Regions from separate parts of the Homo sapiens genome. Here all the other regions are linked to region 1. The links are contacts of gene promoters, found by promoter capture Hi-C in human tissues and cell types (Jung and others, 2019). All regions are on one chromosome and are shown on one strand. The core of a region is centred on a gene start or on the middle of the fragment in contact, and the rest is flanking DNA. Distances in the headings are between cores, read along the strand shown.

What was found. Contacts are between HindIII fragments. The study calls those that stand out against the background at their distance.
Region 2: a fragment that was not itself captured here is called in contact with the fragment with the promoter of CLDN5 in region 1 in 2 of the 25 tissues and cell types used here (dorsolateral prefrontal cortex and thymus).
Region 3: a contact is called between a fragment that was not itself captured here and the fragment with the promoter of CLDN5 in region 1, in 6 of the 25 tissues and cell types used here (dorsolateral prefrontal cortex, heart left ventricle, mesenchymal stem cells and 3 more).

What each region holds. Positions count from the first base shown.
Region 1 is chr22:19,522,219-19,526,691 of GRCh38, forward strand. CLDN5 (claudin 5) reads right to left here and starts at 2,192. Exons shown (of 1, transcript NM_001363066.2): 1 at 809-2,192. The coding sequence starts at 2,037. The coding sequence ends at 1,381. RefSeq lists an enhancer at 1-807. The HindIII fragment of the contact is 10,668 bases long and covers 1,962-4,473 here.
Region 2 is chr22:19,450,313-19,455,104 of GRCh38, forward strand. UFD1 (ubiquitin recognition factor in ER associated degradation 1) reads right to left here. Exons shown (of 12, transcript NM_005659.7): 11 at 4,437-4,518; 12 at 1-432. The coding sequence ends at 358. It overlaps UFD1-AS1 (UFD1 antisense RNA 1), which reads left to right. Exons shown (of 2, transcript NR_186687.1): 2 at 1,282-1,376. Among named protein-coding and RNA genes, the nearest start is that of C22orf39, 5.0 kb to the left of the region's middle. The HindIII fragment of the contact is 4,632 bases long and covers 1,081-4,792 here.
Region 3 is chr22:19,410,923-19,415,262 of GRCh38, forward strand. All of the region lies in intron 1 of HIRA (histone cell cycle regulator), which reads right to left. Among named protein-coding and RNA genes, the nearest start is that of HIRA, 19 kb to the right of the region's middle. The HindIII fragment of the contact is 5,454 bases long and covers 1-4,340 here.

The sequences.
Region 1 (4,473 bases), core at 942-3,441:
GGGGCCAGCACTGACTCCCAGGCCACACAGCCCCTGGAGGAGGAAGGTTACCCAGAGTGCCCCCAGCAGGGGCTGGCACAGGTGCTGGTTGTGAGCACCATTCTGGGCAGGCTGCCAGGCCAGCAGGGTGGGTACAGGCTCTGTAGGGAGCTGCGCTGGGACTGGCAGAGGAGCCAGGACGAGGGGCTAGAGCCAAGCTGTGGTACTCCAGGCAACCAGCTGCCAGCACCTCCTCCCATGGCAACCCTACTGTTGACCGGCGTGTCCTGCATTCACCCCTGTTCCTGCCCCACCCACCATTGGAAAGGGCCTGGTCGGGGATTCTACAGACCTCTGTGGCCACTTGATGGGGCTTGGGACTAGGCAAGCCCTGAGAGGGCAGTGGAAAACCTCACCCTGTGCTGTGTGGGGCTTGGCCCTTTCTGGGAGAAGCCAGCGGCCTGGCTGCTCACCCCCAGCACTTCCCACACCGCAGGACCCCCACTCACCAGCCTGTGTTGAGGGCGCTTCACCCCGCATCTTCTGCTGGGGTCTGCCGCTGCCCCCGCCCCTGTCCCATCCCGGGCCCCAGGGCCCCATGACGCAGCAGCTCTTCTGACCGCAGATCCCGCCTTTCTGGGCTGTAGTAAGTGGTGGCTGTGTCTCCCACCTGGTGGGAAGGTGGCAGGGAGGATGGGGAAAAGAGCCCCAGCCTCCAGCCCTGGGAGGAGGTCTCCACAGGAGTCCTTGGGAGGGCGGGGCTGGTGGGTGATGAATGGGGCTGCTGGACACGGAAGATGGCTGGACAGAGAACAGGACACAGGTGGGAGAGAGTTCAAACCATTTACTAAGCAGATTCTTAGCCTTCCCACTCCCGCCCTCTCTCAAGCTCCGGTGCCCACAAGCCTTGCCTGGGGAGATGCTGGAGTGAGACCGGGAGGTCCAGGCCAAGTCACTGGTCCCTGGGCTCGGGCCCTGCCGATGGAGTAAAGACCAGCTGTACACATCTTCCGGTGGGGGCCCTGGGCTCTGCATCCGCCCCTCCGAAGTCAGCAGGAGCCTCTGGGAAGTAAGGCAGCAGCCAAGACCCCCAGCGTCTTGGAGGGGAAGCGAAATCCTCAGTCTGACACCCGCTCTGCCTATGGAAACAGCGCCGCGCACAGAAAAGGAAACTTCATTCCGTCTGTTAAGGGCAGGGCCGGGCTAGTGGCAGGAGAAGGTCAGCTGCGGGCGCAGGCAGGAGCGGATCCAGGAGCCGCGTCGGGGCGCAGAGCCGGACGTTCCGAGGAGCCTGCGCGCCGCGCTACCCGGCGGAAGCCGCGGTCCATGCGGGGCTCCCCAGGCTTATCCAACGCCTCGCAGGCGTGGCTGGCAGGAGGGGCCCGGCCGTGCCCAGCGCCCTCAGACGTAGTTCTTCTTGTCGTAGTCGCCGGTGGCCGTGGGCCGCCGCGGCGCTGAGTACTTCACGGGGAAGCTGAGGTCGGGACGGCCGGTGCAGACCCAGGCGCCGCAGCACAAGAGGCAGCCGCCTACCATGAGCAGCGCGGTGGCCGCCCAGCCGATGTACAGCGCTGCGCCCAGCTCGTACTTCTGCGACACGGGCACAGACGGGTCGTAAAACTCGCGGACGACAATGTTGGCGAACCAGCAGAGTGGCACGAGCGCCAGCAGCCCGCAAAACAGGTAGAGCACGCCTCCCGTGAGGGCCACACGCGCCTTGGCCGGGCCCGGGGCCACGCAGGTGGTGCACTGCGCGCCCGCCAGGGTCACGAAGAGCGCAACGAACGCCAGCAGCACGGCGCTCACGGTGAGCGCCCGCGCCGCCTGCACCTCGGTGCTCAGAGCCAGCACCGAGTCGTACACTTTGCACTGCATGTGCCCGGTGCTCTGCACCACGCACGACATCCACAGCCCCTTCCAGGTGGTCTGCGCCGTCACGATGTTGTGGTCCAGGAAGGCGGTCACCTGCCACATGGGCAGCCCGCACGCCAGGATCAGACCCCCCCAGCCCACCAGGCACAGCACCAGGCCCAGGATCTCCAACGCTGCGGACCCCATGGCTAGAGGCGAGACGCGCACCCGAAGGCCCGCAGAACCCCCAAGGCCGTGCTGCGCGGCGCCCTGGGCGGGCCCTGGTGCCTTTGCGCCCGCGCTCCCGGCTCTTGGCCCCAGTCCGTTTGCCCCGCGGGTCTGTCGCACCTCCTGGGTCTGCCAGCTCCTGCCGGGGGGTACCCTCTTTGAAGGTTCGGGGGCGGATTCTGTCCCCCGGGCCCGGCCCCCCGGCCCGAAGCAGCCAATCCGTGCGCGGGTCATCGTGCCGCAGCCAATCACAGAGCCTCTGGCAGCTGAAGTTAGGGAAACAACGGCTCTTGAGGGGTAGCTGAGGGCGCGGGACCGCTCCCCGCCCGGCAGCCGCCCCCAGCCCCACCCGCCGTTGTCCTAGTCGCGGCCGAGCGCATTCTGGGCTGGCCTAGGGCGCGCTTCTTGGGCCGCCTCCCTGCGCGTCCCGGCCCCGTCACTTCAGAAGGCGCTCGACCCCCAGTCTGCACCACCCAGTCCACTCCCACATCCCCGACTGAGCCGGGTGGTCTCTTCCACTCGAGCCAGCTCCACTTCCCTGACCAAGGTTTGCAGAAGCCCCCCACCCCGTCACCGCCGTAGAGGCCCTCGTAGGGGGGCTCTCCAGAAAGCCCGCCCCGGGGTCCAAGCCCCACCCAGGCCCTTTCTCGCACTCTCACTCTCCAGCCCCGCTCTGAGTCCCAGCACTGTCTCTCTCATCCCATGGCAAACAGAGAGGCCAGGCAGGCGTGTGGAGGTCAGGCCCAGGGCCCCAGCCTCACCCCCCATGCCACTCACTGCCTCTCTGGAGCCTGAGTCTCTGGCAAAAAGCGGTGGCACAGGGGCTTTCCCCCTGCCTGGCGACCCCCACTCTCCCAAGCCGCAGGGGCTTCCCAGACCTCTCAATCTTCACAGGGGCTGCTCCTCTTCCTGCGGTACTGCCCGCACCCCATCCTTGGGGGCCCAGTTCAGGTGACACCACTTCAGGAAGTTCCCAGTGACCCAGCACACTGGGTGTAGCACCCAGGGGCAGTGGTGGCCCCAGGCCTAGCAGCCTGCTCTGGCCTTCAGACAGGAGAGACAAAGGGACACGGAGGGGCTGTGCCCTGCCCTCCCACCAGTGGCGATGGTGTCCCTGGCACCCCAGCCCCCAGGCCACCCTCCGGAAGCCAACTTGGAGTTTCCTGGCCAGGAGGAAGAGCCCCCATCCTTGCTGGAGGAGGGAGGCGCGGGATTTCCGGGCATTCTTCTGCACAATGGCCCAGCCATTTCTCGAAAGGTCCACTGGTGTGGACACTCCGGGCCCCCTGAGGCTCAGGTGGGGGCACGCGGCTCCAAAACCCACAGCCCCATGGGGGCACCAGCCCCTTTCTAGTAGTTCTTTCCCCAGTCTCTCTCGGCCCCTTTGTTTCCAGTAAAGTTTGAACTCCAGGCCCTGGACTGAGGCCACTGGGTGCCCAGTTCTTTTATCTGGTCTGTGCTCAGTTCCATTGGACAGGGCCCTCCATAGAAAAAGTATGGCACTGAGGCTGGTCACAGATGTGGGAGGTTTGATGACTTTCTCCCTCCTGGGGCCCGGTTCCCTTCTCCCCCTTCAGATGGCTCTGAGATGGTAAATGAGATAAGGCCAGCGTCTGGCTCACCTAGTGTGGGGAGGTTCTGAAGGCAAGTGTGCCCAGCCCTGAGGCTGGAAGGAAATCATACCCTCTTTGCTCAGCCCCACGTGGCCTCTCCCCACCAGGTATGGCTCTGAGGACCACTGCCTTCTCCCAGCTATCACTTTAGTCACTGCCTTCCTCCTGCTGCAGACCCATGGGCCATGCCCCTTCCTCTACAGACCCTCCTGGACATCTCCTCCTCTGTGTACTCCAGGGGTACAGCTGACCCACCCACCCTCTCACTCTTACTACCCCCTAACCCAAGCCCAGGGAACTTCCCCAGATCCCCCTACTCCCAGCCCTTCCATGCCACCATCTTCCTGGGATGACTGCTGCGGCCTCCTCAGGTCATCAGGGACCTGCCCTTGCCCAGCTAGGCCACCCACCCCACCAGGCCCCTCTCCTGGGCCTCACCCTACCTAAGACCCTCCATGGCTCACATTGCCCATGGACGAAGAGCCGACTCCCAGAGCAGCTGGATTGATGTGTACCTGCATGCGCTAGGACTGGCCAGTCCAGCCACCAGTCTTGGTGCGGCCCTGAGCACACACTCTGCCCCAGGAGACTTACCTGCCTATGGGCCTCACATGGGCCGTCTCTTACCTTGGCCTCTTCTGCCCGCAGCGTGTATCTGTCAGGTTGGGTCCTGCTCATCTTCTAAGATGTGTTGCCGAGGTCATTTCCAGGAACACCTTGCTGCACCGTCCCCCAGCATTGCTTTTAGAAGCTTGAGCTGGACCTGTCCTTTTGCTTGCCGACTTTCCCACCTAGTATCCAG
Region 2 (4,792 bases), core at 2,147-4,646, 71 kb before region 1:
CACTTCATGTTAGACAATTTAGTCACCTTCATAGGTTTTGACAGAATTAGGGATGCAGAATTGCTCCTGCTGAGGCAGTGGGAGCTCCCCTCAAGCTGAAAGCGTGAAGAGGTGAGGAGGCAGCTATCTACAGGCCCTCAGGGACAGCTCTTTGTCTTTCCCCAAATCAAGCATACAACTACAAAGTCCTGCTGCTCCACTTCCAAGTCAAACTTAATAATTCTTAGGTAACTCTAAATAAATCTTAAGTAACAGAGTATTCTCTGATGAGGCTCGTCCCTGTCAGTGCCAGTAACTAAAAGCCAAGATGTTGCAAATGATTCTTTTATTATTTTCCAATCAGCCAACAGTCCTCACTTAGGGCTTTCTTCCCTTTTTACGCAATGACTGTCCTTCTCCAGAGAAAGCGACGAATCTGCCTCCAGCTTCATCCTAGGTTTGAAGAGAAGATACTATTTTCAGAAACTCCCTGGAGGTTTACAATAAATGCCTTACTCTATGGACTCACGTACCATCCACATTACTCATAAGAAATATCTCAGGCTGGACACGATAGCTGACACCTGTAATCCCAGCACTTTAGGAGGCCTAGGTGGGAGGATCACTTGAGCCCAGGAGTTCAAGACCAGCCTGGGCAACATAGTGAGATCCCATCTCTACCAAAAATAGCTCAGTGTGGTATGTGCCTATGATCCCAGCTACTTGGGAGGCTGAGACGGGAGGATGGTTTGAGCCAGGGCCATAGTGAGCTATGATTGTGCCACTGCTCCAGCCTGGATGGCAGAGCAACAGAGCAAGACCCTGCCTCAAAAAAAAAAAAAAAAAAAAAAGTCTGTAAGTTCATCACCCAAAAACATTTCAGGTCACTTTTCTGTACATGCTTAAAGAATTGTTTTCCCACTTAATTCTGAAATCTCATGCCAATAAACTTCCTGTCTAGTATACTCCCAAGGCTACAGAACTGAATTCTGTAAAAAAGAATTCCATGATGTAGGAGGGCCAGTTTTCTACCAGTGGACATTGTTGTGGTAAGCAGCTTAATGTATTTGCACACAACTCTGATTTTTTTTAGAGCTCAAATTCCTGGGTCAAAGTGTGTACACACTTTTAATGCTTTTAACATATAGAGACCAACCAGCCCTCAGAAACATTCCACTAAGCTATCCTTCCATCAGCAGAAAGAGGGATTGTTTTTTCCCAAACCTTTGAAAACTGCACATATTTTTTTTCACATGCTTTTATTGCTAGTCAGTCTGAGGCATTATCTCAACTTTTCCCTAGGAAGAAGAGGATTCTGGAATGTTCAACACACATCCCTGCACCTGGCTCCCCACTAACTGTAGCATGTTATACCTGCAATAGAGCACTGTTTAGTATTTATGTGGTCACATTCATGTAAATTTGAGTCACAGCTGCATTTAGTCTTCCTTTGCCGCACAGCCTTCCATTCATCCTGGTGTCAATAGCTGTGTTTGGCTTCTTCCTCTATTCAATCACAGCCTGCATTGCATGGAGTTCATCTGTTTTGACAAACCTGTGTCTCCTGGGCCTTCGCCCTGCCGTACCTGGACTGGCCTTTCTCTAGGTGCCGTACATGTTAGTGGGGGCTCCTTATTTCCTGGATTCTATGACTTTCTTATTTCTACCTTATTCCTTCATTTTAGTGAGGAACACCTCCTAGGAGCTTCCTGAGAAAAGATGCATGAGGATTATCTTCTTGTGAGTTCCTTTTTTCTAATCTCATATTTCATTGATAGGCTGGTTGGTATGTTAGTCTGCTAGGGCTGCCATATAAAATGCCAAAGATAGGGTGGCTCAAACAACAGAAATTTATTCTTCATAGTTTTGGAGGCTAGAAGTGCAGGATCAAGGTGTCAGCAGGTTTGGTTTCCTCTGACACCCTTTTCCTTGGCTTGCAGATGGCTGCCTTCTTGCTGTGTCCTCACATGGCCCTTCCTATGTCCAAATTTCCTCTTCTTAAAAGGACACCAGATTGAATTATGGCCAACTCTAATGGTCTTATTTTAACTTAATTGCTTCTTTAAATGGCCCTATCTGAGTTACTGGGGGTTAGGGCTTCAACACAGAAACACTGGAGGGACACAATCCAGCTCATAAGAGTTGGTACAGAATTTTAGGTTGGAAAAAATTTCCCCTCAGAATTTTGAGTATATTGCTCCACTATCTTCTAGTTTCCTCTGTGTCCTGCTAAGATGATGTCCCTTTTTTTGGGAGACAGGGACTTACTGTTACCCAGGCTGGAGTGCAGTGGTGTGATCTCAGCTCACAGCAGCCTCCACCTCCCAGGCTCAAGTGATGCTCCCAACTCAGCATTAAAGTAGCTGGGACTATAGGTGCGTGCCACCATGCTTGGCTAATTTTTAAAATTTTCTGTAGAGACAGGGTCTCCCTATATTGCCCAGGCTGGTCTCAAACTCCTGGGCTCAGATGATCTTCCCGCATCAGCCTCCCAAAGTGTTGGGATTACAGGTGTGAGCCATGGCGCTTGGCTGATGATGTCCTTAATGCATGGTGATACCTCTGTTCTCTCTCTAGAAGCTTTAGGATCTTTCTTTGCCTCAAAGTGGGGCTATTTTCATTCATTTTGCTGGAACTCAGTGAGCCCTTCAAATCTGCAAAATTGTGCCCATCTTTGGGGAAACTATTTCCCTGATGATTTCTGCTCCTTTGGTTTCTGTGGCTGTTCTTCCCACAAATCCTCTATTATTTAGATGCTGGAATGGAAAGCTTTCTGACTGTGGCCTTCACTTCAGAGATAGTAGTCTAGAGACCTACTGGAGTCGAGCCTCCAGCCTTCTGGGATGGGGGAGGGAGGGTAATGCAGCTCTAACTGCTTAGTAACAGAATTCTGTCTTTAGTCCCTCATTTCTAGAGGTGCCTTTTGAGAATTCCACAATCTACACAGAACTGCTTCTAGGCTTTCTATGGTCTACTAAGGTACCTGGGGCTTCCAAAGCCTTGTAGTTGCCTCCTCTTCCACTGTCTTTCTTACCTCATGACCTTTAGCCACAGCCTTAGTGGGGCTGCAGGATGGAATAGAGCTAAATATGTCTTCAATCCCATCTTTAAACATATACTTCTTAAATACATATTTATGGTCAAACAGGCCTGCTGTGCCCACTGGCCTCCCCTGCCTTCTGTAAATTTGCAACAGTCAGGTCACAGTCAGCCTGGGGGACGTCCCATGCTAAGGTCTTAGGTCGGAGTCAGGCACTGGCTTTTAGTGAGAAAGGCAGCCTGTAGCTGGTGAAGCCTGGATGGTGCCTGAAGGAGGAGCTGGAGGGTGAGGTCTGACTGGCCACTATGTTTGCTCCTCTGAGCCTGAAAGGTCCCAATGCCCAATGCTGTTTCAACTTGAACATTGAGCCCAGAAGTGGTTGTGAGTAGGACCAGGTGTGCAAACTTCACAGTGGTCTCTGTCCCCAACCACCCCAAGTGCTAGAGAAAAGAGTTCAGTAATTGGGATGGCTCCCATGTAGCAGCTGGTCCTGAATGGGTGGCTCAGTACATCTGCCCTCTGCCCTGATCCTGGATCCTCAAGGGTCCAATCCTTTGAGAAAAGGAACCAGGAGAGCGATGGGTCTGAAGCGCTGGTGTTGTAGAAATCCTCATCACAAAGAGGTGACTGCGTTCCAGTTGCTGCCAGGCCTGGCCATATTCCCACAAAGTGCCCATGTCTACAGGATGCTCAGCCCTTGCCTTCCTCTGTCCCGCCACCACCCTGCTCAGCTAGAAGGTGCTGCCTATATTTGAAGTTCAAGGTCTCTGTTGGAAGACGAAGCCCACCCAGGGCACACAGTTCTGTGATAACAGAGCCTGGAGTCGGCTCTAGAGCAAGACAGAGCTCCTGACCCCCATGCTGCAAGTCTTCTGTTTCATACACCCTACACCAGCTCTACAGAAAAAAACAGGACACCAGGGAGCAGAGGGACCCTAGGAAAGGGAAAACATGACAGACACCCTCATGTGGTTTGGCTGCGTCCCCACCCAAATCTCATCTTGAATTACCACGTGTTGTGGGAGGGACCAGGTGGGAGGTAACTGAGTCGGTGGGAGGTAACTGAGTCATGAGGGCGGGTCTTTTCCGTGCTGTTATCATGATAGTGAATAAGTCTCATGAGATCTGATGGTTTTATAAGTAGGTGTTTCCCTGCACCAGCTTTTTCTCTGCCTGCTACCATCCATGTAAGATGTGACTTGCCCCCTGCCATGATTGTGAGGCCTCCCCAGCCATGTGAACTGTAAGTCCATTAAACCTCTTTCTTTTGTAAATTGCCCAGTCTCGGGTACATCTTTACCAGCAGCTTGGAAACAGACTAATGCACACCCCTACTCAGAATGCCAAGAACTTCAGTCATCACTAGCAAATAAATCTCCTCATTACCAACCAAGGAAATACAAGGAAATACACTCACCTCTTCAACCTTTTTGACAAGGGGACGTGAATTTCTGATGAAAGTTATCTTACCAAGTTTAAATTCATAATTGGGAATTCCTCTGTAAGAAGAGACAGAGACAGAGAAATGTTATTTCCAGGAAAAAAGGACTAAAATTCATTTTTGACAGTCAAGAGGAACGCAGAAAAGATGCTGCTGCACCCCACCTGGGCCCTTTGGTGCTTCCTGGCATCCTCCCAGGAGGGAAGCAGAAAGTAACTGACTTCTTGGTTTGGTATCAATATTGGGTATAGGGCCAGGGGCTTTAGGCTCTGTACCTGTCTATGGAGAGGGGTCATCTGAAGGATTGGGAAGCCCTCACTGTCACTGTCCTG
Region 3 (4,340 bases), core at 522-3,021, 110 kb before region 1:
CATTCCATCACTGAGAATGGCTGAGCCCATAGGATGCCTGGGCATTTGTCTGCCATCTTGTAGGGATGTGTGTTTGTAATGGCTATGAGCTGTTCATGATTGAAGTTCTGAGTCTCAGGTACTTAGTGAAAAGGGCACACAGCTGTAACTCCAGACATCTCCCTATTGCATGGATCTGCACTTGACTGGCAGCCTAGACAGAAGGACTGCTATTTGTCTTTTCTGGCTGACAGCTGAGCAGGACCAGCGCTGGCTGCAACCAAGGAGCATTGCTTCGCTTGTCATACTTCTGCTTCCAAACAGCCCTCTTTTGTTTGTGCTGTGAAGTTCCCATACCGTCTGCCATCTCAGCATCTCCTCTGGCTGAACCTCCTTCACAGTTTGTACTCTATGTTAAATTAGCTGTTCAATTCCTCCAGGAGAAAGGACTGTGGCTATTAGTTCTTAGAAGCCCCAAAGAGCCCAGTATGGGCCTAGGCTTGCACTAGGATCCCATGAAGCTAGCTGGCTGGCTGGGTGGGTGGATCAGACCGGCAAAAGCACTGTAGGAGCTTGAAACCCAGCAGACCATAGAAGGCACTCACGCCTGGTGGGCATTTGTCCAGCTCCCTGCTTCTAGGACAAAGGTTTAAGAGCTACAAGTGGCATGTCAGTTGCTGTTGAGTTCATCACATCTTCAGCCTCTAGCACAGTACCCAGTGTACAGTAGCGCAGTAATATTTGTTCATTGACAAAGGAGATACATGACAATGATCTGAGCATCAACAATTGCTGATATAGATGGGCTGTTGCCAAGAGTCTCTTAATTGAACATGTTCTGTCTCTGTCACCCAAGAGGAGGCAATGTGGACACAGTACCAGAGTCACCAGCCCTAGAATCACTCAGCAAGTACTGGGATCAGGAGTGTGTGGGCAGGCAGTGGCTGTCTGAGAACTGTGAAGTCCTGCCAGGGCTCCCATGCAAGTGTGAAAATTAAATGCTGGTGCCCAAAAGGCACTGCCCAGCATGGGACCCAGGCAGCACCCAGCTGTGGAGAGCCGCAGCCATGTAGTCAAATCAAGCATGAACTTGAGATAAAATACACTTTCCTTCTTACTGGTCACTATGTAGTATAGGTTGAGTATCCCTTATCTGAAACACCTGGGACCCGTTTTAACCAAAGGGAAATGACAGAAGTAATGTTGCTCCAGTTCCAGGTGTAGGCCTTAAGAGTCTAGCAGTTCAACTTTGGCTCTCTGGAGAAACCTAGTTGTCATGTGAGAAGTCCAAGTACCCTGAGACCACCATGTTTTGAAGAGGCCCAAGCTGGCCACATGTAGAGCATCAAAGAGCCCGGACAAGTGAGAATCAAGGTCACAGACACAGGCCTGGTGAGGTGTTCTATCCCCAAGCTATTCGAGCCATCCCAGCAGATTCCATAGAGCCAAGATGAGCTGAACCTGCTAAGTCCTGACAAGCTGCAGAATTATGAGCAAATAATAAAACTGTTATTGGTTTAAGCCAGCAAATTTAGGGGTTTGTCATATAAGAGATAAACCAAAATGCCAATTCATTTGCTTTTCTGCTTAAGCCAGCTTGAGCTGGGCATTTGTCATTTTAACAAAAAATGTTCTAGCTGACAGCTTTGGTCTTGACGGGCAATCAGGGCGGAACATTCCCCTCCCCTTGGAGTGCTTTTCAGTTCCATAAGTCTGTGAGACATTGTATTACATCAGTCCCCTCAAGAAGCACACCAGAAACCCTTACCTGCAAGTCACAGTTCCCCTGACTACCCAAGAGCACGTACAGGCTGAGCCAGGCTGTGCTGAGGGCTCAGCTGCACAAGTAACCAATTACAGCCCATGCGCTTTAGATCATGCCCACTCACAGCATCAACTGCATGTTTTCTCACTCAGTCTCTGTTTGCAGATTTCTACTATGTGCCAGGCATTAGGCTAAGCAATGAGAAAGTAAAGATACATAATCATACAAACTCCCCTAGTAAGATGTCCACTGATGGACACTTCACAAGCAGAAAGCCACCTGACTCAGCCTCGGGCTTCCTGCAGAAATAATAACTGAATTGGGTCCCAAGGGTTGAGTAAGAGTTAGCCAGAAGATCGGGTGAAGGAGAGGGTTTTCAGGCTGAGGGGACGCACGGCATGGAATCAAGAAATAGGCTGATGTAATGTTGCAGAGCAGACTGCAGGTAGAGAGTGTGAGAAAGAAGAGGAGACAGAGATGGCTCAGCAAGCATCAGTAAGGAGCTGAGACATTTCTCTAAAGGTACTTTCAAGGCAGGGTAATGCCAAGGTCAGATTCACATTCTGGCTCCACAATAGCAGTGTGGAAAATGGGGGTGGGGGCCTCAAGGCTCCAGGGGAAGGCAGGGATGGAGGCTGGCAACAAGTTTGGGTTTTGGCATTAAACATCATGGGCTGAATCTTTAGCCCTGCCACTTACCCAGCTACAAAGCCTTGAGATTTTATTTTATTTTATTTTTATTATTTTGAGAAGGCGTGCCTGGTTCATTGGCACCAGGTTTCCTTTCCTAGTGCTATGCAGATTAGATGAAATATGGTAGGGGACCTACACAGATACCAGCGCAGTGCTGGCTCCCCGCCTCCTTACAGCACTAGGCCTTTCCATCCCAAGGAAAGCAGTCACTCACATTCCATTAGTGGGAATGAAACTATTTATTTATTTATTTATTTATTTATTTATTTATAGACAGAGTTTCGCTCTGTCGCCCAGGCTAGAGTGCAGTGGCGTGATCTCCACTCACTGCAAGCTCCGTCTCCCAGGTTCACGCCATTCTCCTGCCTCAGCCTCCTGAATAGCTGGGACTACAGGTGCCTGCTACCACGCCCAGCTAATTTTGGTATTTTTAGTAGAAACAGGGTTTCACCATGTTAGCCAGGATGGTCTCGATCTCCTGACCTCATGATCCGACCACCTCAGCCTCCCAAAGTGCTGGGATTACAGGGGTAATCCCGGCCACCGTGCCCGGCCAGGAATGAACCTCTTCTAAAGGGCTCTCTGAGGTGGAGCTAAGGAAAGGGACCTTCTGGCTGAGCTAGTTAGACAACTCTTCCTGTGGCACAGCATGATGATGACAAAGATGAGTTCCCAACTACCTCCAGTGTCTGGCCTTTCTTTGTAATAGAGACAGAAAGAAAAGACAAATTAACACACCCTAGACTCTAGAGACACCAAGCAATCACCTATCCTTAGATCAACCCCAGATCAGAATGTTGTCCCTGCACACCCAATACACAGCCAATATAGTCAGCCACTGTCTACTGTCTGGGGATTTGCTGATTTGACAAGAGCAGCACAAATGCTTTCCACCTGGCAGGGAATAAAGAATACATTAAGGAAGCTGGGATTATGACAGGGCATGCTCAGGTAGAATCGTACCCTCCTTCACACTAGGGGAAAGATTCCTAGAAGAGGACTAAACATGGGAACTTAAACTCTGAGCACAGAGAGGTGGCCAGAGGCAAAGCAGAGAGGGCACAATGGAGAGCTGCTGGCCCTTCCCTCTCAGCAGTCCCACAGACCTTTGGTTTGGCTCCAAAAAGTCTCTGGGCTTTTATGTTCTGATAGTTCATTGGGTAGAGCTGACTGGAACACATGTGCATATGTCCTTTTGGAATGAAGCTTGGGAAAGTTGAGGCTTTTGCCCAGTGAATGTTGCTCCTGGGAACACTTCCTGCACTGCCCAATAGAACTTGGTTTTAACCAATGTTGACAAATTTAGAATTAAAAATAAGAAAATGTTTGAAACATTTATTAAATGAAACAGTTACAGAACAATACTAAAATATAAGGTGGGGCCGGTCATGGTGGCTCACGCCGGTAATCCCAGCACTTTGGGAAGCCAAGGCAGGTAGATCACTTGAGGTCAGGAGTTTGAGACCAGCCTGACCAACAGGCGCACCATTGCACTCCAGCCTGGGTGACAGAGTGAGACTGTCTCAAGAAACAAAACAAAACAAAAAATATATAAGGTGGGTGCAAACAACACAAACTTATTTATTTATTTATTTATTTATTTTGAGACGAAATCTCACTCTGTCACCCAGGCTGGAGTGCAGTAACGCAATCTCAGCTCACTGCAACCTCTACCTCCTAAGTTCAAGCGATTCTCCTGCCTCAGCCTCCCGAGTAGCTGGGACTATAGGTGTGTGCCACCATGCCTGGCTAAAAAGTGCTGGAATTACAGGCTTGAGCCACCCCGCCCAGCTACAAACAACATAATCTTAAATGTAGAAAACCCTAAAAATTCCACAGAAAAACTATTAGTGCTAATAATGAATTCAGCAAAGTTGCAGGATACAAAATCAACAAACAAAAG